Regions from separate parts of the Homo sapiens genome. Here region 1 is linked to region 2. The links are contacts of gene promoters, found by promoter capture Hi-C in human tissues and cell types (Jung and others, 2019). All regions are on one chromosome and are shown on one strand. Each heading gives the region's core, a stretch centred on a gene start or on the middle of the fragment in contact. The rest is flanking DNA. Distances are from core to core; before and after follow the strand shown.

What was found. The method cuts DNA at HindIII sites, captures the fragments that hold promoters and counts their contacts. A contact is called where the count stands out against the background at its distance.
Region 1: a contact is called between a fragment that was not itself captured here and the fragment with the promoter of TNC in region 2, in 6 of the 25 tissues and cell types used here (adrenal gland, heart left ventricle, mesenchymal stem cells and 3 more).

The regions. Positions count from the first base shown.
Region 1 is chr9:115,325,346-115,332,227 of GRCh38, forward strand. The region is part of intron 4 of DELEC1 (deleted in esophageal cancer 1); the gene reads left to right. Among named protein-coding and RNA genes, the nearest start is that of DELEC1, 190 kb to the left of the region's middle. The HindIII fragment of the contact is 6,146 bases long and covers 333-6,478 here.
Region 2 is chr9:115,115,024-115,121,825 of GRCh38, forward strand. It overlaps TNC (tenascin C), which reads right to left and starts at 3,134. Exons shown (of 28, transcript NM_002160.4): 1 at 2,959-3,134. It overlaps LOC124902255 (a long non-coding RNA gene), which reads left to right. Exons shown (of 3, transcript XR_007061746.1): 3 at 5,933-6,802. LOC101928748 (a long non-coding RNA gene) reads right to left here. Exons shown (of 6, transcript NR_110950.1): 6 at 4,516-4,685. RefSeq lists enhancers at 1-89, 3,413-4,232. The HindIII fragment of the contact is 7,931 bases long and covers 675-6,802 here.

The sequences.
Region 1 (6,882 bases), core at 2,156-4,655, 210 kb after region 2:
ACTCTCTTCTCCTATCACTTTACAAACTCTATCTTCCCCCAAAGGCCTTTCCAAAGGAAGCAGCCAGGCTCAGTGGCCATGATGTTTTCCTGAAGGTATGGGAGATAGATTATCCAGTTAAAAACACAGTTATTTCCCTAAACCTGACTTAACCTCTGCATATAACTGCCTGGAGCCTATTCAACGCAGTTGACAATTGCCTGCCCCGGGGCCTCCCTCTGTCCTGAAATTACCCATTTAAATCTTCCTATTTTTTTTAATCCCTAATAGTCTGTGGCCTACTTTTTGTTGTTTACGTTTTGTATGTTTTTCAAAACCCCAAAGATTTGCTTCAAATTCTACTCATTCATTTATTTTGTAAATAAATGCATTCATTCAATGTTGTCGTGAGTTGGGAGGGAGAAATGTCTGACTGTTCATTTTTCTGCCAAATGATTATATAGAACTTAATAGTATGAATTATGAATCAGACTGCTTGGGATTGAATCACAGGTCTGCCACTATCTATGTGACCTTGAGTAAGTTGTTTAACCTCTCTGCACCTCAGTTCCCATCTGTGAAATGGGGATATAATAATAACTTCATGGAGTTGTTGTGAGGATTAAATTAATTCATAAATACAAAGTACTTAAAACGGTGCCTGGTGCAGCTTAAGAGCTATAGACAACTTTGCTATTATTTATCTAGTGATCTTAGCATGCCCCATTAGAATGGAAAGGGGTGGAGCTTCATAAATCTTTTTGAAGTGAGATCTTCAAGACATGGATGCTGATAGATGCCAGACTATCATGGATGCGAGTCTCAGCATCTGATGGGATAAGAACATGGTTTATCATTTTTGATCCTGAATTTGAATAGGTAAGAGATGAGTAATGAGAAAAAAGAAGGGAGGAAAAGAAGTCTGCAAAATAGAGACTGAGACCGGGCAATATAAAGGGTTTGTAAAGCATCTTGATAGTGAGATGTCTGGAGGAGATTTCTAAACGGGTTCTGTTCTGCTCTTTGATAGTTGTTTTGTTGGTGGCTATAGAGATTTTTTTTTCCCCCTGAAGCTCCTCTCCCCATTATTGTGTGAAGTTCACTCTTCTTGCAAATGTGAGTGGAGTTTTTAGAAATTCAAAGCAATAGTTGAATTTTTTCTCCAGCTAAGTCTTCTAGACTAAAACAGAGATACCCATCTAGAAACAAATATTGAGAGACAAGAGGTGCTGGGTTTTCTGAAAATTTGCCAAAGTACTGGAGAAGATGTCTACAGGCTGCACAGTTGGGGAGGATAAGAAGCTAATTTTGCTGAGATCTCAAAGGTCAGCGAGACCCTAGATAAAATATAAACCAACATTTACTAGAAGCAGCTGTGTAGTAGTCATTTCCCAGAGGTCTGAGAATTAAGACCTATCACTAGCCCTTCTGTGTTATGTTAGCGAGTAACCATGTTACGTGCCTAGTTTAGGGTAGGATGATATTGATGGGTGGAGAAGTCAGAGAAGGGTCTGCTCCTCTCCTTGATTCATCCACTCACCCTCTTGCTTTGAACTTCTCCAAATGGCTGAGGTTTTAGACTTTACACTGGTGGAATTTCATATACAATCACATAATAGGCACATAAAATATATTTCATCTAATCTTTCTAACAGCCCCAAGAGGCAGATCATACTGTCTTTTCAAAAAAAAAATAACAGTAAGGTGAGGAGATTCATAGTTATAGGTGTGAACGGGCTTTAGGATCTGATAAGCCGAAACTGGATTGATTGATAGCTTTGCCTGGTCCTATCTGTAGGTCCTTGAGCAAAGTATCTAACTTCTAGGAGCTTATATTTTCTCTGAACAAGGAGATCTTGAAGGATTGTGTAACAGTTACAACAGAGTGCCAGTTGTTGGAAAATACCTACAAAATGGTGGTGTTACTATTTTCTTATTCTTTTGCACTTTTTTTTATATCCATAGATAGTAAATGCTCAACAATTCAGTGATGAAATTAAGTGAAATTATCTTCCTAAACTAGGCTACTATAGTCCTGTTAACTCCTGCGTGTAGTTTACAATGAATCCTTGTGTCCCTTGTATGGAAAAATCTGCTTAATTTATCAGCTCTGCCAAGTTCTTACAAAAACAAAAGAAAAGGTGAAGAAGCAGAAAAACAAATGGAAGATATCCTTTCTGTAGTCTTTTACTGTTGACATAGATTTCCTCTGCAGAAGAGAAAACTATGGCTTTAAAACTGGGATGGTTCATACTCAAAAAGAATCAGAGCTGGTCTGGTATGAGTTGGTTATGGACTGAAAGGGTTAGGTTATGTCAAAACTTTTCATGAGCTAGTACAAGCAGGATTCTCTTGTTTATTGTTATATTTTAAAAGACATTCCAGGCAATAAAGAAAGAAACTCCCTCAGCATGTTCTGGCTTTGGGCCCCTGTCTCGGTCATGTTGGTGCGGCAATGGAGTGGGTGTCTATCTCCCAGATGTGTAAGTGCAGAATGGGTTGCAACCTGGATTCTTGATTGAGAAACCTTCTGTTCCTCTATAGATGAAGGTCTATTTCCTTCCTCCTGAGGCTTAAATGGGGAGGCATGGAAAGCCTCACACAGGACTGACCTGGATAAAAGGGTCTTTGTGAAGAGAAGGCAATTTATCAACTGCAGGGCCATTTCAGGGAATGATTTAACTGTGGTCACTGTGCTGTTCACAGCAACTTTACATCCACACCTATAGCCCCAACTTTGCCATCAATTTGCAAACACATACCTGATGGACACCTATGCTGATCTGATGTTTTGGGGGGCTTTCTCTTGGGTTCCAAGTATTTAATTTTATTGCATTTGAGGAACTAGGAAGGAGGGAGGAAAACGTTTAAAAAGAGAGACATTTTTAGGGAATTTAGCCAATGTTCCAAAGAGCCATGTTGATGAAATGGAGCAGTTTAAGTGAAAACAAATTGAGTTTGGAAAAAAAAAAAAAATTTCCTCCACCCAGTGGCATTTGGAGCTTCCATTCTGAGTTACTTCTAACTTCCTGGAGCCACGTTTACTTTGCTGAGCAGACTAAATCATTTAAGTTGTCAGCTTCTCCCTGTCCTTGCCAGACCTCACTCAAGGAATGCTTCCAGGGCCATGGGAGCTCACAAAGGCCTCAGTCTGCCTGAGTCACTCTCTGGGGACCACATATCCACAGGGCAAGTTTCTCTGTCCTAATTTAAGGCTTCTCAAAGTCAGGGGAGAGCCTTTCTGTTTCCATCCACAAAATAGGTCAGAAGGATATGATAATAGCGATAGGTAGAATTTTATTTAGCGTTCCTTGTGTGTAGCAAGTACCATGTTGAGAGCTTTATATTCATTAATTAATAAACTCTTCACAACCATCTGATATGGGAAGCTAATAATCTTCTGGTTTTATAGACATTCTTTTTTCTGAGAATCAGAACAAACAACTTGATCAAGATTATGCAGCAGCATTGGGCTTCAAAACCAGGTGGTTTGTCTTAAACTTAGCTCCTAATACTCAGCTCTATTTCTCTGGGGACATTGGATGTTATTGCAGTTCCCCACCATGCAGCTCACTCAGCACCAGGGTATGTGCTGTATGGGGTGAGGAGAGGGGGAGGAGAAGGGACAGCTGTGATTCAATTAGCACAGGTCTCTGCTAATTGCAGAGAAGGAGCCTAAATTCTAGAGGGGAGACAAGTGTATGAACAAAATCATCAGAGCAGAGTGACAGAGTGTCTAGAAGTACTAAAGAGGGCTTAGTACAAAGTCTAGATGTACTAAGGAGGAATGAGCAATTAGGTCTTTCTCTGAGTAAGGAAGGGGCTTTGTAAAGGAAGACTTGAAGAGAAGATCATCCTTGGACAAGAACTTCAGCATAGAAGAAGTTTATCTAAAACATGATTGACAACGAGACCAGCAGGGGCAAAAACACAGAGAGAGGTGGACGAGAATGGTGTGGCAGATAAATAGAAGGAGCCTAGAATTGCTCTAGTGTCAACTGAAAGGTAATAGAATGCTAATCAGTATCTATTTTTTTTGCCTCCTTTGTAATTAGGTGAAGCAGTATTCTGATTTCATTTCTGGATGATAGAATAGGACAGGAAATTATATGCCCATCTACCAAGTCTGGCTCATCAACCCTTCAATAACTGATCCTTTTCCTTTCTCCCCATATTCTGGCAGACAAAGAGAACTCAGAACCCAAAGGACCCAGAAGACCAAAGAAAACAAGGTCTCTGAATTATTGCCCCAGGCAATCACCCCTCTCTCAGTGGACACACTTTTATTGTGTTATGCTGATAAAATTTGGGGATTATTCATTCTAGTGCTTAGTCTACCTTTACTAATCATGGTGGTTGGGAAAGGAAAATGATCACTCAGAGCCTTATACATGGAATGAAGAGGTTAGGATTTATCTTTAAGGAGATTGAGAGCTATTGCACAGTTTTAAGCAACAGAGTGGTTCAGATCTGTGGCTCAGGATGTTTGTTCTGAATGCTGTGTTGTCTGAATGGGTTGGCGCTAGATGGTGGGAATGGGAGACATGAGTGGCTAATGGTCTATCTGCGCTGCTCTCAAGGGTATGCCTAACTCCTACTCCATCTGCGCTGCTCTCAAGGGTATGCCTAACTCCATCATTTTATTCAATTTTTGTACACTGTGGACATTGCATACAGTGGCATAAATGGATAAATGACTTCATCACTACCAATGATTTTATGCCAGTCATGGAGCTTGGCATTGACGTGCATCATCTCCTTTAAAACTTGCCAGAACTCAGGAGATAAATATCATGATTCTCCTCTAACAGGTGAGGAAACAGAAGCTTGGTCAGTTTGGGCAACTTCCTCAAAGACCTGCAGTCTTTAAATTCTTGAGCTGAGGCTTGTACTCAGGCTTCTGATTCCAGAGTTTATACTCTTTTCATTAACCTGCTTGCTGAGTAACTTTTTTGTTTGTTTGTTTGTTTGTTTTCAGATGGAGTTTCACTCTTGTCGCCCAGGATGGAGTACAATGGCATGATCTTGGCTCACTGCAACCTCTGCTTCCAGGGTTCAAGTGATTCTCCTGCCTCAGCCTCCTGAGTAGGTGGGCTTATAGGTGCCCGCCATGATGCCCAGCTAATTTTTGTTTCATTAGTACAAATAGGGTTTCACTATGTCGGCCAGGCTTGTCTCGAATTCCTGACCTCAGGTGATCTGCCCGCCTCGGCCTCCCAAAGTGCTGGGATTACAGGTGTGAACCACCGTGCCCGGTTTGAGTAACCTTTAAGTAAGAAAGTGCCTTTTGGGTTGAGTTTAACAATTTCCATGGTAGAGAGTCTCTTCTGCTATATGCTGTTTACTTAGCTTCTGCCTAGTATATGCAGCAGCAGAAAATGGTTTCCCTTGTTGTAGGTCTAATGAGATTTAGAACACTTTGGGTCCTCAGATATAGTGAGCAAGATTTTCACTTCATAGATGAAGGAACTGCAGCCTAAAGAATTGGGAAGAAAAGGTTTATCCAGGCTTGCTGTGCATTCCTTCCTTTCTCTGGGAATTCCCTTGGAGAAGAAATCTGGCTGATCAAATCTCCTTGTAAACATGCTGTGAAGACTCTGGGGAAAACCACTAATGATATTTGTTAGTGGCAGTCTTTATCTTTGAGAGACTTTTAGCAGCATGAACCTTACCCCCGTAGTAGAATTGTATATGGTAAACAAACCTGGAATCTAAGGATTCATGGGTAATGGCTTCTTGAAAAGTGTCAAGTAAGCTATGTAACTATGGCAGGAGATGGAACTACTTCAGGGTTAAAAAAGCTGGCTTTCATTTCGTGCAAGTAATGTACTTGTGTACATCTTTTGGAGAACCATATGTTAAATCCGAATCAGACCAAGTCCTAATGTGGTAAGAAAAGGGCTGTGGAGTAGTATTGGCAGTCCTGGGCTTTTCCCTATGTTCCCTGTACCTTGTGATTACTTATAGCTTTGACATTATTAGTAAAGTTTGATACTTGGTAAAATATTTTATTCTTGTGGGTCTAATTTGAAAATCTAGCCCTTGTGTTATCTCCAACAGATACTGCCTGATCCAAGATCACAAAGTTGGGCAGCAATGAAAGATCTAATCTCAGACCTCTTCTCTCCTGTATCCCAAACCAGTGCAACAATGAGGTTTCCTCTGTTCCTACATATTTATTTCTACATCTTCTTACGTGGTTTAGAATGATGATGATGATGATGATGATGATAATGATAAAATCAGCAACTACCTTTAATTTACCTTACTATGTGTCAGACATAGTGCTTCTCATTATATAAAAACAGTATAAGCAACACATCTATATGTAAAAACTCTCACGTCGTGAAACATATGTATAGAGACCCTATCGGGTTAAACCTTATGAAACTTCTAATATGTATTTAACCTACAAAACAGGAATGTCATTTGGCTCAATCCAATATAATATGCCAGGTAGTTTAAATTAGGTGGACAAGAAAGGCCTCTGAAGATCTGAGATCGAACAACGGGAACTTGGCATATAAAAGTTCAGAAAAGAGAAGAACCTATGCAAAGGGAATCTTCTGCTTCAAGGACTCTGAGGATGGGACCAGGTGCAGTTTGAGCACTGAGAGTCCTGTTATGGCTGAAGTAGAGTGAGTAAGACAGAGTGGTACAGGTTGAGTTGGGATGGGTAGACAGAAATAAGACCATTGAGCTTTGGAAGTAGGAGTAAAGAGTTTGAGTTTTATACTAAATGGGTTTTGACTGGGGACAGAGAGGAAAAAATGAGATGTGATTGATTGATTGATAATTTATTATTTTTATAGATTTAGGGGGTGCAAGTGCAAATTTGCTACATGGATGTACTGCATTGTGGTGAAGTCTGGGCTTTTCGTGTACTCATCACCCAAATTGTGA
Region 2 (6,802 bases), core at 1,884-4,383:
TGGCTTCAGCATGAAGGGGGCTGCGCTTTGGTCCAGTGGATATGTTTTCTTGTAAGAAAGCACAGCTAGGTGTCTATAGAAATCTAGAGAGAGAGGAGAGAATATGTGCTCTTAATTTATTGTTAGCATTAGAAAGGGTAGGATTAAGGGGGATATGTTTTTCATTCTGTCAGCTTGAATTCTCTTTCCAAATTCCATTCTGGTTATATGATCAGGCTACTGCTGTATTTATGGGTGGCCACAGTCTGCCTGGAGGGGCATATTTAGTCAGAAAGGAAGTGTTTTCCTTCTAAAGGCAGGCAAGAAGCAGAGAAGCATTCAGAAGGAACACGGCAGAATGTACCTCTGACTTGGTGATCACGGGGACCTGGGTGTGAAACCTGGCTGTATCACTCTGAGTTCTAGGACCTTGGTAAAGTTATTCAGTCTCCCTGTTCTTGAAGCCATCTCTTTGTCCAACAAATATAGTCCATACCTCAGAGACATGCTGTGGATGATCCCACAAAAGCCTACAGTTTAGAGAGTAGGCTCATCATATATTTTGGCTATCATTGTCATTAGAATTAATTAAAATAGCCTTTGTTAAGTCTTTTATTTCTCATTCATATTCCTGTCTATTACACTATTTGTGGACTTGCTCTTACTTCTGCTACAGATGGTGACTCAGAGGGGCAAAAATCCTTGTTGAAGGGCAGAATGGCAACCAGAATGCACACAGCCTGGTTTCATGATTTGTAAATGTGCTTTTTGTCATTGAAGATTCTGTGGCAATGTCCCAGAGGCTAAGAGCAAAGGTGTAAGTTTTAGACCTTGTGACCCCACTTCAACCAAAGCAGCCCTGCATTTACCTGTCATATACTGGGGGTTTGCCCTAAATTCATGTAATGAATATTTTCATCATTAAAAATAAGTTTAAAAATCATGATCTTAGAATATTAATCTTGGACAAGTCCTTGTAAAATGATAAACAGAGAAACTAAGAAAAGTTTCCATTTATTGAACCCTTAATATGTGGAAGGTACTATGCCAAGTGTTTGCCATATATTACCTCATTTGAATGTTGCAAGAGCCCTGTGAGACATAGTTTGTCATCTCCATTATATGAATGACAAAGTTGAGGGCTGAAACGTTAGTCACTTCTTAGAGTGGGGAAGGAGGAGGTTAGTGTGGGATAAAATAGAGAAGCTAGGTTTTTAAAACAAAGCATAGAGGAAAAAAATATTTAATGACTGTAGAGCTTGGCAACATCCCTTTCAATCCTTGTCCAATTTACCCTGTTTGAGCAAACCAGAGAATACTCATATTGTGCACCTTTTTCTTCCCCACAAAGCAGTCACCTTCCTGAAATGCAAGGGCCAAAGCACGCTGACTTACATCTCCTGCAAATGACTTGTATGCGCACAAAGCCAGAAACTCTTCACTTGGTTGTCTAGGACTGAATAAATCTTCTTCAGTCCTGAATTGGGCTTGCCTGGCTGGGATGGATAGTAGTTTTCCTTTCTAAAACACATATGGGAAAGCTCTGTAAAAATGGGGGAAAAAGTCTACAAAAACATGAAAAAGAGGCATTCATTCTTCAAGTGGTGCTCCCTGTCCTGCCCTCCCTCCGGACAGAAAGCTTTTCCAAAGAGTTTCCAACAGCATCGTACTTCATAGCTGTCAGCTTTAGAATCTGCAGATGCCTAAACTCAAAACCTCCTGACATTCTGGAATCAAAATTTGACATTAACTTCCAGCCCCGGGCTACTACCTTTTCTCCAACCTGTGCCAACACAACCTCCTGCTTGTAAAATACAGCCAAGTCTCAGACCTGCCAGCCTAGTGAGACACCCTCAGATTGGGTGAGATAAAAAGCGGGGGCTGGGGGCGGGCTGAGGAACAACACACAAGAAACAATCCAAGACTGGCTCAATGCCTCTTTTAACTTCCAGAGTGATGGCAGTTTTTGGCAATGACAATGATTATCCAAACTTCCAGTTATTAAGCAGTCATTGCTGATCTTTCTATACCTCATTTTCTCCTCAAAACGACAGCAGACGCTATTGTCCCCATTTTAGAGATGTGAAAACTGAGGATTAAGGAAGTGATGTATCTTTCTCAGGGTCATATGTATGGTGGTGGGGAGAATACCAAACACCTCTGGCTTCAAACCTAAGCTCTTATTCCTCTTACAACACTGATGGGTGAGAAGAACCCCTGTGTTCTTTCCAAAGTACACCAGGGGCAGCAGGGTTCCCATACCTGGGGGATGTTGTTGCTCAGATCTTTCTGTGATGAGAGGTGAGGAGGAGGAGGTGATTCTAGAGACATGTGGGACGCTGCTGGCTCTAGGCACCCCAGTAAAGCTGTTCTCCACCACTCTCTAGCTGCCTGTCAGTTATTCATCTGGCCCAGGAGCCACCTCCTCTCTTCTGTCCCCCAGCTCTCATTTCCAGGGTGAATATTTTGAGGACCAAATGAGGGAATGGGTACAAAACTCTTTGTAAACTTTATGTAAGTGCTGTTTAGATATAAACTTTTATATTCTCCCTGCACTCCTCTATCAAACTCCCTCTAACCCATCCCAGGGGCAGGCTATGAGCAAAGTCTGCCTTAAAACTCTACTGCCCTAACCCTCAAAATAAAAGATATATACAGGTGAATCAGCCAGACTAGAAGTAGGAGAGCAGTTGAAGAGAAAATTTTTACTTTTCCTCTGCAGAACAGCAGAAGATAACAACTTTACGAAAAGTTCCTTCCAAGTCTGACTATTCATAAAGTTAAAACAAACAAAATTACAAGACCAGAAAAGTCAAGGTGCATCTGATATAACCAATACACACTCCTTTTTTTTCCAGCGGTGGAAAAAAAAACCCCATATGTTTTGTAATTATAATATAAAATCACAACTCATTTGGTACCAGGAATGCAATCCTTACATCATAAGGATCTCTAGTGATGAGGGCAAAACAGACTTACCTTTCCGATGGGCGAGAGACCTAGGTCCTTGGAAGAAGTACCTGGAGTGTGGAGCTGCGGCGGTTCCCACGTGCGCGTTCCCCCGAGTTCCCCAGCAGCGCTGCCTTTGTGCCCACGGAGGCGGGGGCGTGTATCTGCGCGCGGGAGAGGCGGGTGACAGTAGGCAGGCTGTGGCCGGTGCAGCCAACTTTGGCTGGCTTATATAGCGAGCTCCTTCCTCTGTAATGGGACGCCTCGCCTCCAGACATCCTTTCCCACTTTTTCAGTTGGCGAATTAAAGGAACAGCCCTCCCAGCGGAACAGGGTTAGCTCATGAAAGACGCACTCACTCCTGGCTCTCGGCCAGGGAAGGAACCCATTTGCATACAATTTATGGCGAAAGTAGGAATTCCCGCCTGCCCGCCCCCGACCCCGAGTAGCTGTTAGTGAAATGTGATTTTTGCTTTGCTCCCCACACGGGTTTTCTAATTGTGAGACGGATGCCTGGGGAGCAAGAGGGAGTAGGATCCGCAGCCCTGGCTCCCCTCTTGTACTTGGTCAAGCTGGAAATGGGACCAGGGCTCGCCTGGGCTCTGGGCAGCAGCTGCTCAGTGGCACCTCGGAGCGAGTACAGGGACTGAGCCCAGTTCCTGGAAAGAGGAGATAAAGCCCTTCAAAAGCCTGGGGGGTTTCAGGTTTCTCTGGGCCAGCGGAGAGATAACCCAGGATTAGGTCTCAGCAGGTGGGGATCGTGCGGGACGCTCACATCAGCCCTGCTTTTCTTGTGTGGGAGCCAGCCTTGCCCAGCTGCTGGGAGGCATCTTTGTTCCAGCCCCAGTGTCCTGCAGGGCAGTAGCTTTTTGACATTGTTCATGCCCTGTGCCTGGTGTGGTCTTCTCAGCTGGGTCTCCAGGGGGAAGGATTTCTGAGGTTTTCTCTTAGTGCTGAAAGGCGTCCCCCACAGCCCTTTCTTTAAAGAAAAGCAATAATTTAAAAAGGTAACAACCTAATCCTTGAGCCATAAGCTGCGCCTTTGCTTTCCAGCCTGCCGTGGATTTCCTCCAAGCTCTGAGTCATCCGTTCGTTTGGTGGTTAGCATGCATTGAGTATCCTCAGGGCATACAGGGGCATTTAAGGGAGTGGAGAAGTAGCACTTCACCCGTGCCTAGAGACTTCTGAGCCTGCCGCAGAGCATAGTAGTTTGTGACAGTGAAGTAAAATGAAGCATTAAATGTAATTCAAAACGCAACTACCATTGAGCCCTCCCTTATTAAGTCTATAATCAGGTGCTGTGCAGGGTACTTTATGAACACTATTTTTGTTCACTATTTTTATTATATCCTTGTAACCAGTAAGTAGGATAGACACAAGTGTCTCTTTTTTACACAAGAAAACTGACGTTTAGAGAAGTAATGAAACTTTACCAAGGGAATACACCTGGGAAGTGTTTATATTACAACACTGGGCTCCAGAGATCTATTACACGTTACTGTTTAGGAATAGGGTATGATGATATTTAAACAATGTTTTATGCTGTATTAGATTGTTAACACCATTTGTGTAGAAATCACAGCCATATTTGAATATGGAAAATATATTTATTTGCTCCATAAAGCTAATTAGGAGAGATCTTTGATTTTTAAAAATTAACTACTAATAATGGAGGTCTCAATTATCCACTTATTTTCAATATTAAATGATATCATCCCCACAGTTATTATTGTTGCTGTGGGCCTCAGTTTCCCCATCTGAAAAAAAAAGCAAGACACGATTAGGTCATCCTACGGTTGCTTTGGCTGTAGTATTTTAGGATTCTCTGCTAAAGTGACCCTCCCAGACAGCAAGAAAGCCCATAAATAGTCATGTCATAAAACCGCTCATTTGAACTTTTGATCCATTTTGGCTGATTCAAATGTTGGTTGTTTGGGAAGTTTTAAATTCTGTGCTTTAGCCAAAGGATATTTCAGTAGCATGAAGCTGTGTCTCAACCAGCAGTGAGTGGTTCCTACTGAGTTAATCTCTTGGGTTAGGGATTAAAATATTAGAATAGTGTACAATATATGTCATATGGTATATAAACTATATTTGTATAGAACATATAATCAATATATTTATAATTCTATGTGAGTTTTTAAATAAGACAAGAGCGCATGCTAGAAAACTAGATAGATATGGCTTTTTCGGGGAATGTCTCAAACTCGAACTCCTCTCCCCAGTTCTTTAGGATTCTACAATCGTTGATTAGTGTCTACCACAAGTGGTATGGTCAATCACAGGGAAACTAAGCCAAATATGACCAGGCTGGCCCTCAAAGCAGGAAAAGGCTAGCAGAGGTGACAAACAAGAATACTATTATGGGTTAAGTTAACAACTATCATATAAGTGTATTCTGATAACATAGAGAAGAGATGATTTATGCATTTTTAGGAGAGGCTACTTGTAAAAGGCATTTTCTCCAAAAAGCTATGTGGCATCTTAAGCTTTTTGGCATTTGAGTAAGGAGTGCCCAGACGAGGACGTGTTTTCCATCCCTGTACTGTTCGCAGCCTCTGTTTCTGGTAGATGGGTCCATATGCACCAGGTACTCTACAATACCCAAACTTTGTTCATGCTAGGATGATGCCCTAGGCTCCTCACCTCCATGCCCTCACATCTATTTATCATCCATTTCTGATCTGACTTCACTATGGAGCTTCCTAAATGGAAGAAATCCATCTAGGAAGAGATGTTTCTATGCACTATGGCATTTGTAACTCTATTAGGACATCCATTGCATCTACATGGTATAATTACACATGTGCATGTCTAGATTTTCCTCCTAGATGCTAGGCTTCCTGAGGCTGGTGATCACACTTGCTTTTTCTGTACCTGGCATAGAGCCTTGGGTATCATAGAAGCTCAGTAAATGTTTATAGAATGAATGAAGTAATGGAGGAACAAATAAATGTTTGACATGTTGTGCTTTATAATTAAATTCTTCCTTTTACAACCATAGAACCTGAAAAGGAAACTGGATTATTGTGTCCAATGCTTCCATCGCACAGATCAGAAAGTGGGGTGCTGAGAGGAAGAATGACTTGTCTGAAGCCACTATGCCTGCTTTCCAGGAAGAAAACTGTCACAATCAGAACTGAGCAACCAAGCCACACTAGACATTACAGCAGAGGAAGTTTATGGAAATGAAGAACCATTTTTCCTCCTGTTTGGCAGAGGCCATACCTCTTGGCATCTAATCCCTCATGGTTGCATCCTTCTGAGAAGCATAAGCACTTTTTTCCACTTGAGAGGGTAGAATGAATGCATGTAAACACCACCCCTGCACAGAGCTTCCTGCCAAAGACTGATTTTGTTGTTGCTTGTTTGCAGTTCTTATTCAGGAGTTGCTGGTGGAGGCTGTGGTTTAGAGACCAGAGGAATGTCATGGTTTGCCTCAGGTGAGATCATTCTCATTTCTTTAAAGGTCTGTTAAATGTAATACTTTTTCTTCCAGACAGAACAGACAATGAGTGGAATTTTGGCCAGGACTAGTGCTGAGGAAGCTGAGTGTCCACTTCCCCATGGAATCCCCTGCTTCCTACTCTGATTACATACTCCTTCACTGTTCCCAACCTTCCTCCTCCTCTTCCCGGGATTCATCTCATCTGGTGTGCTAACTCCAGTCCAAAAGTCTCATGTGACTCCATAATTACCAGAAATCTTTTCCAAAGCCGGGATGGATCTCTGATCCCACACAGTGGGCCAGTCATTTAATTAAATGCATTTTGTTAGAGTCAAGGTTTCCCAACTTGCTTGCAGATCATTGTTGAGTGGTCTTTTCCAACTCTTCTTGCTTTTCCTTCGACAACAAAGGACAAAATCAAGTTCA